Regions from separate parts of the Homo sapiens genome. Here region 1 is linked to region 2. Evidence: promoter capture Hi-C in 16 types of primary human blood cells and fetal thymus (Javierre and others, 2016). All regions are on one chromosome and are shown on one strand. Each heading gives the region's core, a stretch centred on a gene start or on the middle of the fragment in contact. The rest is flanking DNA. Distances are from core to core; before and after follow the strand shown. Region 1 overlaps SQOR (sulfide quinone oxidoreductase). Region 2 holds the start of SLC30A4 (solute carrier family 30 member 4).

What was found. Contacts are between HindIII fragments. The CHiCAGO score rates a contact against its expected background, and 5 or more counts as called.
Region 1: a fragment that was not itself captured here is called in contact with the fragment with the promoter of SLC30A4 in region 2 in 1 of 17 cell types (naive B cells); the score reaches 5.2 in naive B cells.

What each region holds. Positions count from the first base shown.
Region 1 is chr15:45,645,358-45,648,383 of GRCh38, forward strand. All of the region lies in intron 1 of SQOR (sulfide quinone oxidoreductase), which reads left to right. Among named protein-coding and RNA genes, the nearest start is that of SQOR, 12 kb to the left of the region's middle. The HindIII fragment of the contact is 4,297 bases long and covers 1-3,026 here.
Region 2 is chr15:45,521,367-45,524,134 of GRCh38, forward strand. It overlaps SLC30A4 (solute carrier family 30 member 4), which reads right to left and starts at 1,389. Exons shown (of 8, transcript NM_013309.6): 1 at 1,241-1,389; 2 at 598-1,102. The coding sequence starts at 988. It also overlaps the pseudogene HMGN2P46. RefSeq lists a silencer at 1,092-1,581. The HindIII fragment of the contact is 8,884 bases long and covers 1-2,768 here.

The DNA of each region.
Region 1 (3,026 bases), core at 1-2,500, 120 kb after region 2:
AATTTTATGTTCCAGTTTGACTGGACTATGGGGTGCCTAGAAATTTGGTCAAACGGTATTCTGGGTGTGCCTGTGAGGGGGTTTCTGGATGAGAGTAACATTTGAATGGGTAGATTGAGCAAAACAGATTGTCTTCCCCAATGTGGGTTGGCCTTACGCAATCAGCTGAAAGCCTCAGTAGAACAAAAAGGCGAACACTCCCGTGAATGAGAGACAATCAGCCCTGCCTGCCTGAGTGTCTTGGAGCTGGGATATCGGATGTTCTTCTGTGTTGAGAGTCAACTGAAACATGGCTTGTCCTGTGTCTTGAGCTGGCCTTGAGACTGAAACTGTACCATAGGCTCTCCCGGGTCTTCAGCCTGCTGACTACAGAATTGGGACTTAGCTTCTATAATCTTGTGAGCCAGTTTCCAGGAATGTCCTTCATGTAATAGGGAAATGATGATGTTTGCTTTGGTTGCCTCCCTCATTCCTTTCACCTCCTCCAGTTAAATCTTGTTTTGACCCTTTATTGGCTGTGGGTGCAGGGAGTTTTCCCATGTTCCAGGAGGCAGCCAGCTTGTAACTAGCAAGCATTGCTATGTTTGTATTTCTGATACATTTTCTAAAAGAGATCGCAGAACAAAGGGTCCTGACTCACCAAGGATACAGGTATTTGTTGTGATTTACTTTCTCATTCAAAATACATATTGGATATTGTATCTAATTTTGTATTGGTAATTTTGGGTTATGAAACCCCAGATTTGAAGCCCCAAATTGTATAGGGTTCAATGCCCATAAAACCCAGATCTGCCCCTGCTTAGAGGCCGGCCCCTCTAGGAGACAGCATGTGGGGCCACCCAGAGATGCAGGACTCTTCTGTTCTGCCCTATCGCAGCAGAGAGGCCATCCCTGGAGCTGGAAGGTGCAGACTGGGAATTGCTCCTTCTCTGAATTGCTAGCTCCTGCTAATGCCTGCATTGCTGCTGCAAAGGATATTCAGAAAAAGTTGCTCGTCAGAAAAAGAATTCATGCTAGCTCTGGCCCTGCTGCTGATGCATTGTGTGAAACCCTTGAGTGACTTCACCTCTTGGAACTCAGTTTTCCCATTTGTAAAGTGATATCAATACTTCCGGTGTGGGCTCAGGTTTGGGCCCTGTGAATTGTAAAGCTCTATGCACATGGGAGGATGTATGATTATAAGTTGTGTTGCTATTACTTGTATTGCTAATATCTTGCTATTATTGAAATATGCCCAAACCTTAACATTTCAGTGACTAAAGAGCAAAACCAGTGTTCACTCTGACATAGTTTTTTTAAATTTTTCATTCATTCACTCATTTTAAGTTTTTATTGTGTAAACTTTCATCAAACATGTACAAAAATAGACTGCCACAAGGAATGCCCATATATATCCATCCACTGATTTCAAATTATTGCCAACTCATGGCCCATTTTGTTTCATCTACACCCCTACCCACTTACACCTCCTAAAATATTTTCAAGCAAATTCCGAGTCATTTCAACTATAAGAATCTCGGTGTATATTTCTGAAAGATAAAGACTCCTAAAAAATTAAATCAGTACTATTATTGTACCTTGCCCTTCTCTGCCAAAAAAACTTAATTTCTTTCTTTTCAGTTTATTTAGTAAGCTAAAATTTAGTAACAGGGAGGCCGAGGCTGGTGGATCAACTGAGGTCAGGAGTTCGACACCAGCTTGGCCAACATGGTGAAACTCAGTCTCTATTAAAAATATATAAATTAGCTGGGTGTTGTGGTGGGCGCCTGTAATCCCAGCTACTCAGGAGGCTGAGACAGGAGAATCGCTTGAATCCGGGAGGAGGAGGTTGCAGTGAGCCGAGATCATGCCACCGCACTCCAGTCTGGGCAACAGAGTGAAACTCTGTTAGAAAAAAACAAAACAAAACAAAACATATATTCACTCTCACCTCCCACCTCACTCCATGGGATTCAACCAAGCTACTTTAACTTTTTTTTTTTTTTTTGAGACAGGGTCTTTGTCTGTGGCCCAGGCAGGAGTGCAGTGAGGCAGTCTCCACTCACTGCAACCTCCTCTTCCTGGGTTCAAGTGATTCTCCTGCCTCAGCCTCCCTAGTAGCTGGGATTATAGAAGCACACCACCACGCTTGGCTAAATTTTGTACTTTTAGTAGAGATGGGGTTTCGCCCTGTTGCCCAGGCTGGTCTCGAACTCCTGAGCTCAAGCAGTGCGCCCGCCTTGGCCTCCCAAAGTGCTGGGATTATTTTATTTTCATTCAAATTTAAAGTAGCTTGGGCCAGGCCCGGTGGCTCAGGCCGGTAAATCGCAGCACTTTGGGAGGCCAAGGCGGGTGGATCTCTTGAGGCCAGGAGTTTGAGACCAACCTGGCCAACATGGCAAAATCCCGCCTCTACTAAAAGTAGAAAAATTAGCTGGGCGTGGTTGTGGGTGCCTGTAATCCCAGCTACTCGGGAGACTTGAAGCACAAGAATCGCTTAAGCCCAGGAGGCGGAGGCTGCAGTGAGTGGAGATCATGCTGCTGCACTCCAGCCTGGGCGACAAGTGACAGAGCAAGACTGTCTCAAAAACAAAATAAAATAAAATAATTTCAGCCAACAGGCATTTTTCCTGAATTATTAGATAGTTTGAATTAAGTTCTGTTGCTTAGTCATGTGACCTTAGGCAAGTTCTCTATCTCTACTCAAACCCTCAATTTTATCATCTGTAAAATGGGGATTTTATTTATAAGGTTATGAGGAGTCTTTGAGACAGCACAAGTACAACTGGTAAACAATAAATGTTAGTTATTATTTCAATGATAGTTTTTTGTTTTTTTGTTTTTTTGTTTTTTTTTTGAGACGGAATCTTGCGCCACCGTCACCAGGCTGGAGTGCAGTGGCACGATCTTGGCTCACTGCAACCTCCGCCTTCTGGGTTCAAGCGATTCTCATGCTTCAGCCTTCCCAGTAGCTGGGATAACAGGCATGTGCCACCATACCCAGCTAATTTTTGTATTTTTAGGAGAGACGGGGTTTCACCATATTG
Region 2 (2,768 bases), core at 139-2,638:
AATTTTGCAAATCTCTTGGCTATAAATACAAAAGGAAATCGTATAAAAGAAACCACTTAGGTCAAATGTAGAGGAAAAAAATGCTGGGACTGTAGATGTGGCTCTTCCATTAACTCCCTAAGTGGCCCTCACGACTTATTCCACTGGTTTGTGCCCTGGAAATCCTTACATGTAAAAAAAAAAAGGAGGTGGAGCAGGTGTTCAGTAAGGTCCCTTCATACTGTAAAATTCTATGATCTTAAGTTATTTACGATCATTTACTATTTTAAACGTTGCGAAAATTAACCTGGTATTTTACCAGACCTTTGTAAAAAGAGGAAGTTACATGACATACAATGAAGATAACGTCCTTAACTTTACGGTAGATGACAGTGGTTGAACAACTAGAAGAGAAAGTCAAAGTTATCTCGGGGAGTTTATATTGTACTTAGATTGAGCTGCACTTTGGAACCGTGTGGCCTTTTCACATGAGATCAGTGTCTTGATAAATACAAACTTCCTGAAAAGATGGGTTAAACCTCAAAGCCTGTGTAACTACAGCTTGACAAAGACTCTCGAGGAAAGGTAAACGGAAAGTGAGTTGGCAACACAACTCACCTACAAGTTCTCCAATCATGAAAAGCAAGTACAGAACGGCAGCAATGGTCAACCTGGCTTTCACCTTTCTCTGCTTCAGTATCTCTCTCTGTTTGCTGCAGTTGTCACAGGAGTCCACCTTCAAACTCAGCTGACTGTTGGTCAAAGGTAAGTCTTGGTCCAGTAAGGAATCATCGTCGGCCTGGAGGGTCGGGTGCGCCCCGTTAACAGGCCTTTCCGGGGCTTCGGAACCGTCATCGGCCACCACAACTCGAAGTTTGTTGAACCGAGAAAGCCCCTCGTCCCCCGCCTCATCCGAGAAGTCAAAGGCGCTGGTGTCATTTAAAAACAGCGGCGCATCATCCTTCCTTAGCATAGATTTGAGGCGCTTCCACGCGCCAGAGCCGGCCATGGCAGAGGCTGAGCGGCCGCGGTGCGGAACGGCTTGGGGGAGGCGGACGGCCGGCGGCGCCTACTTCACCGGAGCGCCAGTTCTCGAGGGCAGTGCCGCGCGTCCCTCCCCATCCTGTGGAAAACGAAACACGTTATAAATTAAAGGCGCCCAACCCTGTCCTCAAGTTCCGAAGCCGCTGGCGGCGGGTCGCAGGGCCGACCCCGACGCTCCGCCGGGGCTCCGCGAGGGGGCGGCACATCTATTTAATACCTGGGGCGCTGCCGCGGGGCCGCAACTCATCTCCCCGCCCCCGGCCGGCTCAGCGAGGCGGGCTCGCGCTGCTCCACCCGCGGCCGCAGGAGAGTGGGGTCGTGCTCGCGCCCGCCGCGCCCGCTGCTGGAGGCCGGCTCCCCAGGTCTGACAGGTTCGGGGCCGGACGCCCACAGCCACCGCCTCTCCCCGCCCTGCGCGAGGCCACGCGCGTGCGCCGGGCGAGGCGCGCGAGGGAGGGGTCGGCGCGAGGACACGCAGGCCTGGCGCGCAGGGCTGGGGCGCCCGCGATGGGCGGGGGCGCGCGGCGCGCCCCGCCTCTCGCCCCGAGGCTGGATTGGGGGCCACTGCGCCGCCTCCGCCCAGGGGTCACTCACTGGCCAACTGAGGGGACTTTGGGCGGCCTCTTCCACCTTCCCAGGCTGGGAGGCAAGTGCGGTCGGAGGGTCACGCCGGGGGCTGGGCGTTGCTGCTAGGAGTTCCCTCCACCGAAAGTGTGTCTCAGGAATCTCGGGTCGGGATCTGGGTTGCGGGTGCTCGGCAGAAGACAAACCCAGCACTTTTCTTGCTAACTGAAAAGGCAAGCAGCTTTTCTCTCCTCGAATTGCTTGTCTCTGGCAAATTGGCAACATTTGCTGCAGTCAACTGGAGAGGGCAAGGCTGTCGTCGTCAGCAGTTCTGTGTCCTACTGTTTTTCAGCAAATATGTATTGTCCTCTTTGTGCTCTCTGCCGTGTTCCTTTTGCCTCCAAGGTATTTACGATATGGACTAAACTCAAGCATAGAAAATCTAGTACAGGCATACCTTGGAGATACTGCGAATTTGGTTCCAGACCACCGCAATATGACAAAGTGAGGTCTCACAAATGTTTCATGTCCCAGTGCAAATACAATCATGTTTATAATGTAGTCTATTAAGCGTGTAATAGCGTTATGTCTAAAACAATGTGCATACCTTAATTTAAAATATTGGGAGAGAGGAAGGAAAAAGTATATATACATTTGTTAATTGCTCTGAGGAAGGAGGGTCGCATGAGCCCAGAGGTTCGAGATTACAGTGAGCTATGATTGTGCCTCCGCACCCCTGCCTGGCGACAGAGTGAGACCTTGTCTCTAAAAATAAACAAGTAAATAAAATACATGACTGCTAAAAAAATGCTATCAGCTGGGCGTGGTGGCTCACGCCTGTAATACCGGCCCTTTGGGAAGCCGAGGCGGGCGGATCACCTGAGATGGGGAGTTCAAGACCAGCCTGACCAAAATGGAGAAACCCTGTCTCTACTAAAAATACAAAATTAGCTGGGCATGGTGGCGCATGCCTGTAATCCCAGCTACTAGGGAGGCTGAGGCAGGAGAATCGCTTGAACCCGGGTGGCGAAGGTTGTGGTGAGCCGAGATCACGCCATTACACTCCAGCCTGGGCAAGAAGAGCAAAACTCGGTCTCAAAAAAAAAAAAAGCTATCAATCATCTAGGCCTTTAGCAAGTCATATTCTTTGCTAGTTGGAGGGTCTTTGCTCCTTGTTAATG